Regions from separate parts of the Homo sapiens genome. Here all the other regions are linked to region 1. Evidence: promoter capture Hi-C in 16 types of primary human blood cells and fetal thymus (Javierre and others, 2016). All regions are on one chromosome and are shown on one strand. The core of a region is centred on a gene start or on the middle of the fragment in contact, and the rest is flanking DNA. Distances in the headings are between cores, read along the strand shown. Region 1 holds the start of ANGPT2 (angiopoietin 2). Region 2 has its middle 140 kb from the start of MCPH1-DT. Region 3 holds the start of XKR5 (XK related 5). Region 4 has its middle 160 kb from the start of MCPH1-DT. Region 5 has its middle 16 kb from the start of DEFB1.

The links. Contacts are between HindIII fragments. The CHiCAGO score rates a contact against its expected background, and 5 or more counts as called.
Region 2: a fragment that was not itself captured here is called in contact with the fragment with the promoter of ANGPT2 in region 1 in 1 of 17 cell types (neutrophils); the score reaches 5.6 in neutrophils.
Region 3: a contact is called between a fragment that was not itself captured here and the fragment with the promoter of ANGPT2 in region 1, in 3 of 17 cell types (erythroblasts, fetal thymus and megakaryocytes). The highest score is 13.7, in erythroblasts.
Region 4: a fragment that was not itself captured here is called in contact with the fragment with the promoter of ANGPT2 in region 1 in 1 of 17 cell types (total CD8 T cells); the score reaches 5.6 in total CD8 T cells.
Region 5: a fragment that was not itself captured here is called in contact with the fragment with the promoter of ANGPT2 in region 1 in 5 of 17 cell types (total CD4 T cells, total B cells, fetal thymus and 2 more); the score reaches 6.3 in total CD4 T cells.

The regions. Positions count from the first base shown.
Region 1 is chr8:6,561,924-6,564,623 of GRCh38, reverse strand. It overlaps ANGPT2 (angiopoietin 2), which reads left to right and starts at 1,379. Exons shown (of 9, transcript NM_001118887.2): 1 at 1,379-1,977. The coding sequence starts at 1,690. All of the region lies in intron 12 of MCPH1 (microcephalin 1), which reads right to left. RefSeq lists enhancers at 1,510-2,036, 2,037-2,562. The HindIII fragment of the contact is 4,979 bases long and covers 1-2,700 here.
Region 2 is chr8:6,268,052-6,270,751 of GRCh38, reverse strand. No RefSeq gene overlaps it. Among named protein-coding and RNA genes, the nearest start is that of MCPH1-DT, 140 kb to the left of the region's middle. The HindIII fragment of the contact is 4,880 bases long and covers 1-2,700 here.
Region 3 is chr8:6,833,507-6,836,206 of GRCh38, reverse strand. It overlaps XKR5 (XK related 5), which reads left to right and starts at 683. Exons shown (of 7, transcript NM_207411.5): 1 at 683-771. The coding sequence starts at 714. GS1-24F4.2 (a long non-coding RNA gene) reads right to left here and starts at 653. Exons shown (of 3, transcript NR_045217.1): 1 at 590-653; 2 at 1-241. RefSeq lists an enhancer at 1,433-2,301. The HindIII fragment of the contact is 367 bases long and covers 1,137-1,503 here.
Region 4 is chr8:6,244,660-6,247,359 of GRCh38, reverse strand. No RefSeq gene overlaps it. Among named protein-coding and RNA genes, the nearest start is that of MCPH1-DT, 160 kb to the left of the region's middle. The HindIII fragment of the contact is 6,089 bases long and covers 1-2,700 here.
Region 5 is chr8:6,860,527-6,863,226 of GRCh38, reverse strand. No RefSeq gene overlaps it. Among named protein-coding and RNA genes, the nearest start is that of DEFB1, 16 kb to the left of the region's middle. The HindIII fragment of the contact is 4,956 bases long and covers 1-2,700 here.

The DNA of each region.
Region 1 (2,700 bases), core at 130-2,629:
CTCACTGGGAATAATAAACCTTGTACCTTGAGAGATAAACCGCAGCAAAGGCAGGGGGCTTTTTCCCTATGTACACTTGGGCTGCTGAGTTAACATATTATTAATCTCTGAAGTATTAAGTTTTAGTTGTTAAAGGAAGTGACTTGCAGAACTTACAGAGCCATAGGATTGAAGGTGAAAAATCTTGTGAGTGCACCCCTTGAATTGCACAGATGAGGACATTAGAGCTTAATTAAAACAGGGAAGTGACTTGCCCGAGTCTAATACCAAGGGGGACTAATGTAATTGATAATGTGTTACAAAATGCTGAGATGTCAACAAATTCTGACACAATAAAGAAGTTTGTGGGCCAGGCATGGTGACTCACACCTGTAATCTCAGCACTTTGGGAGGCCAAAGGCGAGTCGATCACAAGGTCATGAGTTTGAGACCAGCCTAACATGGTGAAACCCTGTCTCTACTAAAAATACAAAAATTAGCCGGGTGTGGTGGCGTTTGCCTGTAATCCCAGCTGCTCAGGAGCCTGAGGCAAGAGAATCACTTGAACCCGGAAGGCGGAGGTTGCAGTGAGCCAACATTGCCCCACTGCACTCTAGCCTGGTCGACAGAGCGAGACTCCGTCTCAAAAAAAAAAAAAAAAAAAAAAAGTTTGTATTCCTCTTTCTACACAGGCACTTAAATTCTAATTTCTCTATTGTAATGTAATGAACTTAATCAGTACAGTGTATTTTTAGAGTGAATATCCAAGTGGAGTTTTTTTAAAGAATAAAGGTCAGAGCTCAGAAACTGATGTTTCTAACGTGACTTAATAACAGATCTTTCTATCCAACTGTTCGGAAATGAAAATCTTTTGTAACTTGGCTAGTGGTTCAAGAATCAACTAAAATCAATGAATCTATTTTTCCCTCTGAAAAGGCACACGTTTACAGGAGCCAAACTTCTTCCTCTTTATTTGTAATAACAAAAATAAACCGAAGTCCTGACCTATTTGTAATATTTTTATTCCTAAAGGAAAAAACAGGAACTTTCATTGTACTTCAACATTAAAGTTATTACCTCAGATATTTTGCCAGCTTAGCACGGCAAAAATCAGTTTCAGACAAAAGAGATCAACTGCTCTCTCTAGGAAATACTTAATTGGGGTGGTGCCTAGGAAATGCCCAGGGGTCCTGTAACAGATCGGTTTTTCCCAGAGGGTTTCTGCAGCATGGGTCCTGGTTGGAGGGCAGGCATTCTGCTCTGATTTTTCCTGTTGCCTGGCTAGTGACCCCCTACAGGAAGATAACGGCTAAGCCAGGAGGGCGGAGCAGCCCACTACACATGTCTGGCTGCTCTTATCAACTTATCATATAAGGAAAGGAAAGTGATTGATTCGGATACTGACACTGTAGGATCTGGGGAGAGAGGAACAAAGGACCGTGAAAGCTGCTCTGTAAAAGCTGACACAGCCCTCCCAAGTGAGCAGGACTGTTCTTCCCACTGCAATCTGACAGTTTACTGCATGCCTGGAGAGAACACAGCAGTAAAAACCAGGTTTGCTACTGGAAAAAGAGGAAAGAGAAGACTTTCATTGACGGACCCAGCCATGGCAGCGTAGCAGCCCTGCGTTTTAGACGGCAGCAGCTCGGGACTCTGGACGTGTGTTTGCCCTCAAGTTTGCTAAGCTGCTGGTTTATTACTGAAGAAAGAATGTGGCAGATTGTTTTCTTTACTCTGAGCTGTGATCTTGTCTTGGCCGCAGCCTATAACAACTTTCGGAAGAGCATGGACAGCATAGGAAAGAAGCAATATCAGGTCCAGCATGGGTCCTGCAGCTACACTTTCCTCCTGCCAGAGATGGACAACTGCCGCTCTTCCTCCAGCCCCTACGTGTCCAATGCTGTGCAGAGGGACGCGCCGCTCGAATACGATGACTCGGTGCAGAGGCTGCAAGTGCTGGAGAACATCATGGAAAACAACACTCAGTGGCTAATGAAGGTAGGAAAAAAATCCATCTGTCTTTGTGAACATGCTATTAAGATCAGCTTGGCAGCAGCTCAGGTTTTAACAACCAAAAAAAAAAAAAAAAAAAGAAGGAGGATGAAGAGGATTAGAGCTGGAGAGCGGGTTGCTGGTACCCTCAAATGAAAGATAATTTCTTTTATTCTATCCCAGGGTGTGTGGGTAGTCCCCGGGGTGAAAATAATTATTTGGAAAGAATGCCAGAGTCAATACAGAAAATCTCTAAAGTTAGAAATCTTTATTAACAAGGTAGAGGAAATATACTTCCCTGCACAACTTGTGTGCCGTTCTGTTTGTTTACATCGTTTAAGCTCAGTAACACCCATCACCAGGGAGGCTCTCAGCTGGTTGCAGGCAAGTGAGGGAAGGCTGTGAGCCGCAGCAGCCCGTGAGCCAGAGAGACCGTGACAACCATGCTGATGACCGAGGCATAACGGATGGAGTAAAGTGCTTTACCAATTTCCTGAATTTATTTACTAAAATAGGTTGTGACTCTTGGTAAACGAGAGGAAATTAAATAAAGCAGACCTTATGTTTCTCAGAATCTCAGGGCCCTACCACTAAGGGCTTGCCGTCTGTAAACAGGGGCACAGTTCCCAAGCGTCCCAGAGGTATTCAGCACTGCAGCCCCCGTCAGTTCCAGCAACCGGTGCGGAATGCGTCCCCACGTGGGACGGTTATGTTCAAGTCATGCCACGA
Region 2 (2,700 bases), core at 188-2,687, 290 kb after region 1:
GCTGGTGCCCTCCCATCTCACTCCTTATGTGGGCTGCAGGGCCTCATCGGTCTGGTGTCCTCTGAAGGCTCCAACCTCTCCTCTGCTTTTCTCCCCATGGCTCATGTTCCCCCGCCACACTGATGTCCTTGCTATTTCTTTGAGAACTCAGACCGTTTTCTGCCTCACGGCCTTTGCACAGGCTGTTCTTGTTGCGTAGTCTGTTCTCTTCCTTGACATCCACATGGCCCCATCGCTCATCTCCTTCCTGTTGTTGGTCAAACGTGACTCTTTCAGGGAGGCCTTCCATGACCGTTCTCTTTAAAGTTGCACCCACCTCTTTCCGGTGCTCTTTTCTCCTTTATTTTTCTCTGCAGTACTTTGCACCATATGACATGCCTTAGGCTTTCTTTTTTTTCTTTTTCTTTTTTTGAGACAGAGTCTCGCTCTATTGCCAGGCTGGAGTGCAGTGGCGCGATCTCGGCTCACTGCAACCTCCACCTCCCAGGTTCAAGCGATTCTCCTGCCTCAGCCTCCAGTAGCTGGGACTACAGGCACGCGCCACCGTGCCCAGCTAACTTTTGTATTTTTAGTAGAGACGGGGTTTCACCATGTTGGCCAGGATGGTCTCGATCTCCTGACCTCGTGATCCGCCCACCTCGGCCTCCCAAAGTGCTGGGATTAGAGGCCTGAGCCGCCGCGCCCGGCAGCCTAATGCTTTCCTATCTGGCTCTTGTATGTGTTGCTCATCTAGACTGCAAACTCCAAAAAGGTAGGCGACTTTGTTTTGTCTGCTTCTGTAGCCCAGTACCTGGCCCATGGCAGGCACCTGATCGAGTTTGTTAAATGAATGCCTAATAAAGTAACTAGAATTTGGGAGGAGCCCTAGTGCAGCTCCAGAGGAAGATTTTTTTAGTCTCATCCTGTTGCCCAGGGTGGAGTGCAGTGGCAGGATCTCAGCTCACTGCAATCTCTGCCTCCCAGGTTCAAGCGATTCTCCCACCTTAGCCTCCTGAGTAACTGGGATTATAGGTGTGCTCCATCATGCCCAGCTGATTTTGTATTTTTAGTAGAAATGGGGTTTTGCCGTGTTGGCCAGGCTAGTATTGAACTCCTGACCTCAAGTGATCCACCGACCTCGGCCTCCCAAAGTGCTGGGATTACAGATATGAGCCGCTGTGCCGGGCCCAGAGGGAAATTTTTTTGAGGCCCTGGAAGAAAAATGGAGAGAAAATAGAGGGAAGAAGAAATACACCAATATATGATACTTGTATGCAAGACTTTGCACCCTTTTTATTTTTGGGGGGTGTTCTTGGCAAAGCCTCTAGCCTCATTGCCTACTTCATTTTATCTTTTTATTTGTTTATTTTTTAGAGATGGAGGTCTGGAGTCTCACTGATTTCCAGGCTGGTCTTGAACTCCCGGCCTCAAGTGATCCTCCCACTTTGGCCTCCCATTATTGTCTACTTTAAATGGTGGAAAAGTAAAAATCGTCTGATTAATATTTCAAAACTATGTCCTAATTGTGTATGTGTATGTTTACCTCTATTTTATGTATACTTTTATACCTATCTAGATTAAAATTGAATTGCTGTGTAAGTACCAGGTGATAATCTGGTGTTTAAATCGGAGCACTGGGATGAGTTAATTAAGATATCTGAATAATTGTTTCCTCTATCAGTATTGTTTTTGAATGAAATAGAATATATGCTAATGATATATGCTTGGTGGGCCTACTTTACCCACAGGGGTGGGGTCACCAAGTGACTAATTAACTCTCTGAGCTGATTAAAGATTTTTTTTTTTTTTTTTTTTTTTTAAGAAGGAGTCTTGCTCTGTCACCCAGGCTGGAGTGCGGTGGCGCCATCTTGGCTCACTGCAAGCTCTGCCTCCTGGGTTCACGCCATTCTCCTGCCTCAGCCTCCCCAGTAGCTGGGACTACAGGCGCCCGCCTCCACGCCTGGCTGATTTTGTTTTTGTATTTTTAGTAGAGATGGGGTTTCACCGAGTTAGCCAGGATGGTGTCCATCTCCTGACCTCATGATCTGCCCGCTTTGGCCTTCCAAAGTGCTGGGATTACAGGCCTGAGCCACTGCGCCTGGCCTGATTAAAGAATTTTAAAGAAAACCTCCTGATTGTCACCAGGTGTCTTTTTTAGAAAGCTATAAATGTCTCTTATACTTCAAAATGAAAACAAAATCCCTCAGCATTTTTAACCTCAAATGAGTGAAAACCAAACCACAATGACACAAAAAGACGATGTGAGGATCACAGAAGGAAAAGATAAATGACAGCTTTGCAAAATAGTCGGCCAGCAGAGCCCCATACTTATGGTCTATTGCATGCTGTCTGTTGTCTTTGAGGACTCTCATGTGATTTAAAAAAGATTTGAGAGGATTTGGAAGTTTTTAAAGGAAAGAAAAAATAATCTGCCAGATGGTCAATGAAGAATTCTTTCTTTAAAACAAAGTTTTATGATTACACTTGTAGTTTACTTATGCTTCCTTATTTAAGTTTTTGATGTAGTAGAACATAGACAATTACCAGTAAGTAGTCAGTCAAAATTCTGGATTGTTCTTTCATATTCCTAGTTTAGTGAGAGTTTTTAATCATCAGTGGATATCAACATTTATCAGTGCTTTTCACACATTTATTAATATAATCACTTTTTTTTTGCAATTTAGTCTATGAATATAGTAAATTATATTGCTTGATTTTAAA
Region 3 (2,700 bases), core at 71-2,570, 270 kb before region 1:
AGAATGTTTTCAGATACGTGTGTGTATATATCTCCATATCTGTAAATATATATAAATATAGATATAGATATCTCCGAAGAGAAGGTTTTCCAATGTGCACTTTTTCTTCTTGCACATTGCGATCTTAACCCTCAAGCACATCTGGAAAAAGCTTCCATGAGGATACAGCCTGGGATGGATTTGTGGGCGAGGTGTAGACCACGATACCGGGTAACGTGCCCTGTGTTTTCTGGACACAGAACTGTAAGATTTCAAAAAGACCCAATCAATGATTCTAACCCAACTCTACATATATTTACTCAAACACAGTATTCCTCCCTGACTAGTGGTTAACGGACTTGCTTTAGGCGGCCCCAGAGGCGGTGGCCAGTTTAGCCACCTCCCGAGGAACCTGCGCAGTCCCGACGCTCACCAAGCGCTTTCCTGGCGGTTACAGGGTTGGGGGCAGCGCAGAACCCGCTTCTGCCCTTATCAGGAGCCCGGACCTGAGCTGGACTCCACCACCTCGTCCCCACCCACCCTGGAAGCCAGAAACCCCAAGCATCCTCCCTCCCTCCCCTGCTGGCCACTACGAATAAACCAGACATACAATTCGCGCCTAACGGCTTAGCCAGAAATGCCACCCGCAGTCGGGCCCCGGGCCGGAAACCTCCCCGACGCGGGGCCGCGTGCAGGGGAAGGGGCGGGCGCAGGCTGCGGGGTCGGCACGGAAGATGCACGCGAGGCTCCTGGGGCTCTCGGCCCTGCTGCAGGCGGCCGAGCAGAGCGCGCGTGAGTGCGGCAGCCCGAGGCTGTGCTCACCCCTGCAGCCCCTAACCCCACCCCGGCGCCGGGAGCCGCACAGGCTGCCTATGCCCGGGCGGGCACTGCCCCAGCCTGCGCCCAGCACTGCGCGCCGGTGACGCACGGTGGTGGCCATCCCACCTGCAGAGCACGTCCTCCCGTCCTTAGTAGATGCCCACGCATGCACCATCCCCCCAAGGATGCATGATTTTCCTCCACCCATGCTCGGTTCCCCCCCCTCCCGACTGGTGCTTGACTTCCTCCCGCCCATGCACGATCCCCCCGCCCCACGCATGCAAGATCCCCTCGCAGAAGCAGGGGAGATGTATCCGCCCTTCCTTCCATCACAAGCTTTGCAAAGTGCTGCGATGCCAAGATGTGCTGAGCGCAAGTCTGGGGGCGCCCGGGCTCTCCCCCGACCCCCGGCCGTCCAGGGGGACCCTGCGACTTGGAGGCCGCTCGCAGAAGGGGTGGCGGGGGGAGGGGGACAGGGCTCCGCATCCACGCGGCCCTGTAGGACGGCGACTCCGCTTCGGGGTTTAGGACGGGGCGGGACGCGGCCCTTCGAGGCCACCTCCGTCGCAGGGGGAACCCAGAGCCCGCCAGCCGCGGCGGAGCAAGATGGCCCCATTTTTCGCGCCCTTCTGGTTTGAACGCGTAACTCCTTCAGTGCCGGGAGGAGCGTCTCCGCCCACTTCCGCCGGGCTCCCTGCGGAAGCTTTTTCCCGGGCAGAGTCCCTGGGGTGGAAGAGGGGGTACCCTGGGAACGCCGCCTTGGGACTTTTCCCTGAGTTCGCGGGCGTCCCCGCAGGTCCCGCTGCTTCCGAGGCGCGCCGAGCAGGACGCACACGGAGGACGCGCAAGCGCCCTGGCTCCGCGCCCCGGACTGGAAGGGCTGAGACAGGACCTGCGGGGGTCGGCACCCACCCCAGGTGTCCTCCCTTGCCCTCCAGCTGGGCACGGACTGGGTGTCAGCATTCCCCAGCCCTGCAGCACCGAAGGCTTTTCGTGCAAGGGAGGCTGCCGCAGGACGCTCGGGGTGGTGACAGCCGGACCCAGCCTGGGCGCTAAGGGCTGCCTGAGCCCGGACCCCGCGGTCTAGAGCTGCAGCGTCTGCAGCTGTACCTCAGGGCAGTTTTCCCAGTTTCCCTAAAATCCGCGGCTTGTGTTCATTCATCCACTTAGAACTTTACTATTGGAAAACCTAAGTAACAGTTGTGTGAAACGATGCCTGTGTGCGGTGCCTCTACCAGCGCACCGCCTCCAAGATCAGCCTCAGACAACCCTGAGGAGGCCGTGCTAGGAGTATTGGGGAGGCCCAGAGTTCCAGGCCAGGGAGTTCCCCATGTGAAAGTAGGAGAAAAGGGACCCCACAGAGAGAGCTGTGACCCCACAGGGACTAACGGTTTCGTAGTGCGGAGTTACTGACTGCGGAGTGCACATTCTCTCTCCACTGCGTAACCACCATCAAAAACAAACAAGCAAACAAACCAGAGAGGAGGTTTCATCGTTCTCGAGGATGCACAAGATGCTAGGCGCTTCACACATGTCGTATATTGCCCAACAGCTCTGGAAAGCCCTGACAATGTCATTTAGTGAATGCCTGTCCCTGTTGCCAGAGGCTCTGCTGGCTCCCAGCCTGCTCCTAGGAGACTCTTGCTGGTGATGGGGACACTGTGTTGGTTGGTTACTGTTTTGTTTTGTTTTGAGACAAGAGTCTTGCTCTGTGGCCCAGGCTGGAATGCAGTGGCCCAATCTCGACTCACTGCAAACTCCGCCTCCTGAGTTGAAGCCATTCTGGTGCCTCATCCATCCCGAGTAGCTGGTATTACAGGCACGCAGCCAGCAAACTTGCTCATTTTTGTATTTTTAGTAGAGAGGCCCAGACTGGTCTTGAACTCCTGACGTCGAGCAATC
Region 4 (2,700 bases), core at 4-2,503, 320 kb after region 1:
GAGCTCCAAAGTTCCAGTTAAGGTCTCGTCTTTGAGCTGCTTATGCCAGTGGACAGCTCTTGCACTGAGTTTCTGCTTTATTCTGTTTGATTATGTGGCCGTATATTTCCCTCGTGAAACATTTTGAGTGACCCTTTACCAAGGAAATGGCTTTTTAAGCTAGTGAATCACATCTTCGCATATTTCCTTCCGTTTCCTCTCTTTATTTCCATGTAAAATATTCCAAATGACATTAAGTGTACGCTGAAATTGTCATGGGAAAAACCAAATAAAGTGCTTAGAAATATCTGCATATTCAGGAAAAAATCATTTGCCAAGTATTAACATGCAGGAGTGAGTAAATCATGTGGGAAGAAGGAAAAGGTCACATTCCAGTTTTACAAAGCAACAGCTGCCATAGCTGAAAAAGAGAAAAATCAATGCCATAAAACACTGTTTGATTTTTTTAAGGTGTAACAAATCAGAGAGTTTCCAATTAAAGTTTTTTTGGCACTGCCCCAATATTCACTTTTACATAAATGGATTTGATTGCTTTTTCTTTGACACGAAATTTCCAGAATTTGGTGTAACAGTGTAAGACTCTGAGAGGGTTGTGGAAAAAGATGGGTGTAGACGGCTGTGAGCTTTAGACTTGTGATCTGGCTTTTTGTATCAGTGAAGATAGGATTTGTGTTCCATTGACCCAAACTATGGTGTCTTACCGCAGGTAAAGGTTTATTTCTCCCACATAAACATCCAGAGGCAGGAAGTCTGTGGAAAGCATGTTGGCCTCAGGGATCTTGGCTCTTTCTAGCTCATGTATATGATGCCCAGAACTTGTGCTCATGGTCCAGCATGGTAACTAAGGCACCAGCTGGCCCATGAGCACGTCAGGCATCAGGGCAGAGGAACATGAAGAAGGAACAGAGGGCATGAAGCAGGTGCCCTTTTATTCAAAGATGCTTTAATTGATATTGAATACCCATGTGACAGTGAAACCGCATAACTAACACCAGTTTTGTTTAAGGGACCTCTGCCCATTCCTGTCCATAGGCTAGGATAATTTTAGAGCACTGAGATAAAACTCAAAAACAGCAATCATGTGGATGAATGGGGACTGTAAGCAACTAACTGTTTTGTTGAAGATTTATGGGAGCGAGGAGGTTTGGCTATCACCATATGAGAGATCATTACCGAGGACCCTTGTTGGTGCCCAGATACCTGTCGTTGTCAACCCCCCTTCCCCCTTACCTAAAGATAAAAGACAAGGCAAAGCCCACTTAACTTTGAGCTGGTTCTTCAGGGCATTAGTCCACCATCTTCTTGGCTTGCTGGCTGTCCTAATAAAGTGGTTTTCTGGCCGGGTGCAGTGGCTCATGCCTGTAATCCCAGCACTTTGGGAGGCTGAGGCGGGTGGATCACAAGGTCAGGAGATTGAGACCATGCTGGCCAACATGGTGAAAGCCCCGTCTCTACTAAAAATACAAAAAAATAGCTGGGCACGGTGGTGCATGCCTGTAATCCCAGGTACTTGGGAGGCTGAGGCAGGAGAATCGCTTGAACCAGGGAATCGGAGGTTGCAGTGAGCCAAGATTGCGCCACTGCACTTCAGCCTGGTGACACAAGACTCCGTCTCAAAAAAACAAAAAACAAAAAACAAACAAAAAAGTGGCTTTCTTTGCTCCAACTCCTTGTCTCTCAACTTACTGGCCTTTGTGCAGCAAGCAGAATGAGTTTGGACTCAGTGACACACAAAACAATAAATAGTATGAAATGTGCAGCTTAATAAATTATGATAGAGAAGATGCTTATGAATTTCCCACAGCAGTCAAGAGACACAGCCAGCCCCTGAGGATCCCACTACCTCTGTCTTTTACCACTTCTCCATCAGCACCCTTTCTTCTTTCTCAAAGGTGGGTAGGTCTTGACTTCTTTGCCTGTTTTTGAATTTTATATAAATTTAACTGTACACTATGTGTTCTTGAATACACCTTCTTTCTCTTTATATTTATGAGATTCATCATGTTGCTAAAGGTAGCTGCAGTTTATCAGACTTCATGGCTGTCTGTGTTGTATTTATTTTATTGTTGATGATTTGGCTTGTTTCTCAATTGGGACTGTTAGGAATAGTGCTGCTATGAACATTCTTTTCTTTTAATTATTATTTTTTTTGAGACGGAGTCTTGCTCTGTTGCCCAGGCTGGAGTGCAGTGGCGATCTCGGCTCAATGCAAGCTCTGCCTCCCGGGTTTATAGCATTCTCCTGCTTCACCCTCCCGAGTAGCTGGGACTACAGGTGCCAGCCACCATGCCTGGCTAATTTTTTGTGTTTTTAGTAGAGAGGGGGTTTCACCGTGTTAGCCAGGATGGTCTTGATCTCCTGACCTAGTGATCTGCCCTTCTTGGCCTCCCAAAATTCTGGGATTACAGGTGTGAGCCACTGCGCGTGGCCTTTTTCTTTCTTTCTTTCTTTTTTTTTTTTTTTTTGAGACAGAGTTTCACACTTGTTGCCCAGGCTAGAGTGCAATGGCAGGATCTTGGCTCACCGTAACTCCCGCCTCCTGGGTTCAAGCGATTCTCCTGCCTCAGCCTCCCGAGTAGCTGTGATTACAGGCATGCACCACCACACCCGGCTAATTTTGTATTTTTAGTAGAGATGGGGTTTGTCCATGTTGGTCAGGCTGGTCTGGAATTCCCAACCTCAGGTGATCCACCGCGCTCG
Region 5 (2,700 bases), core at 114-2,613, 300 kb before region 1:
CTCCCTTTTCCCCACCAGCTTCCCCACGTCCCTTCTAGCCTCCCCCACTCCCCACCAGCCTCCCCCACTCCCCACCAGCCTCCCTACCCGCTCCCTGCCCTGTGGGCAGAGCTGAGCAGGACCTTCCCAGATCCGCCCCACCGCAAAGCAGGTACTGAGTAGGGAACTTGGGGCTGAGAAACAATAGCTTCGTAACCAGCCCAGTGACTCTTGCAGAAACCAGGGCAGAGTGTGATTAGACATGTCCTGTCCCGGGGCAGCCGTCATCCCATGGTTGACAACACATTTCACCCCAGAGCGTTCCTGCCTCCACCTGAGCCAGAGCTTCTAGTGTGTTTTTCCTCACCTCCCCATGTTCTGTGAGCCCAGCCCCCCTTAGATCCCCTTCCTCCAGCTACTAGAGAATCTCTCATCCAGCGACTATGACCCAGCACCAAAGCAGGTCACCGTGAACCCCACGTGGGGCAGGAAACCACAGGCTGACTCTCAAGTCAGACAGACCTGGGCCTTTGGACAAGCTGCACAACTTCTCTGATTCTTGCATTCTTGGGTGTATGAAAGTGAGTAGAATAAATGGACCCCCCCGGACAGGTGTGAGGACTCAGTGAGATAACCTTTATGTGGCACTCATCCAGCCCAGCCAGCCCCTGACATACAATCAGAACTCAGCTCATCTCAGTCTCCTTCCTCATTCTCCATCTTGCTCTTGGAGGTGTCATGGATGGGACACCTGAGTCACCTCGTCCAGCCGGCCAGCGTGAAGGAGCCTGACTGGCCCATCCACACATGGTTTCCTTGGCTGCCTCCATCTGCCTCCATCTCTCATAAGGTGGTTTTGCTCTTTCTGTGGATTGAAGAGCCTCCAACTGTGGCCTAGAGTATGGCTCAGGGCTGAATCAGAATATATGTACAAGAAGACAGAAGTCAGGTACAACTGGACACTTGAAAGGCTTTGGAGCAGAAAGGATGTCACAGTTGAAGCTGAACAGACTAGAAACCATCCAGAGAGGTGAAGGCGAAGGCCTTGGGTCCAGTTCCTCTGCCACCACCCACCTGCGTGTCTACCTGGACAAGGACTTAAAACTCTCGGGCCCTTGTTTTTCTCCCTTAAAATTATGGCAAACATGGTAATAAAACGTTTATGGGAACTTACTCGGCAAAGTGTTATAACTGATTTGACTGATGTGACTCGTTAGGTATGGGAACCCCCAAAATCTGAGACAGGTTTCAGTTAATTTAGAAAGTTTGTCAAGGTGGAGGATGCGCACCCGTGACACAGCCTCAGGAAGTCCTGACGTCATGTGCCCAAGGTGGTTGGAGCACAGTTTGGTTTTACACATTTTAGGCAGACATAAGACATCAATCAATATATGTGAAAAGTACATTGGTTCGGTCTGGAAAGATAGGACAATTTGAAGGAAAGCCAGGAAGACTTGAAGCAGGGAGGGGCTTCCAGGTCACAGATAGGTGAAATACAAACTTGCCTTATTTCGAGTTTCTGATTAGCTTTTCCAAAAGAGGCAATCAGATATGCATTCATCTCAATGAGCAGGGAGATAACTTTGACTAGAATGGGAGGCAGGTTGAATAGAATGGGAGGCAGGTTGAATAGAATGGGAGGCAGGTTGAATAGAATGGGAGGTAGGTTGAATAGAATGGGAGGTAGGTTGAATAGAATGGGAGGTAGGTTGAATAGAATGAGAGGCAGGTTGGCCCTAAGCGGTTTCCAGCTTGAGTTTTCCTTTTAGCTTAGTGAGTTTTGGGGGCCCAAGATATTTTTCTTTCCCAGGGAGCAAACCTGAAGTGGTTTCTTCTTCCAAAAACTGCTAATGGTCTCTCAGTCCAATTCCATAGATTTTTAGCAGCTTTCCATTGTTAAAGAATCTCCTTCTTTTTCCTGACGCCCCACTCACTGGCATGGGACATGACGTCAGGCTCATCCTCTCTCCTCCATCACCCCCATCAAAGCCAATATCTTTATCTTTTGAGACCCTTTTACTCAACAAGTGGCCCTGTAATGAGAGGCAGGACCGAAACCGCCTTTGCAAAATTATAACTGAGGAAATTATATCAGTGAAAGATCAGACCTAACAGACCCCCGGACCCCCATCTTCCTTCTAACGTCTAAACTGTCTTTGTTCATTCCCCCACCCCATCTAAACCGAGCTAGCCTTGGGAAGGAATTTAGTTTATAGTTTAAACTCTGAAACAAAATGGATACTAGCCCTTTCCCCCAAAAAAACCCCTTTTTGCCTGGGGACCAGTCTGCCTTCGTAGGACTAACAAATTAGCTACAAAATTAGATATCAGAAAAACTCCTTCTTGCCTGGCGACCAGTCTGCCTTTGTAGGAACAAATTAGCTACACAGTTAGATATCATGATTTAGGGACCATGCAGCCTCTGGCTACAAGAGTCTGGACCTCTCCCAATTGCTCCTGGGAATAACGTCACTATAGTAAAACCTAAGATCAGTGCTTGAAGTATTTTGCAGATCCTATATTCCGGTGCAGCAGATGACACCACCCAGACTGAAAATCTGGCTCAACCAGTTCTGTGATCCCACCCAGGAACAGAAGTCAGCAAAAACTCACTTTGACCCCCTGTCATTTCATCTTCAACCTGACCAGTCAGCACTCCCCACTTTCTGAGTCCATACCTGCTAAATTATCCTTAAAATCTCTGATCCCAAACGCCAGGGA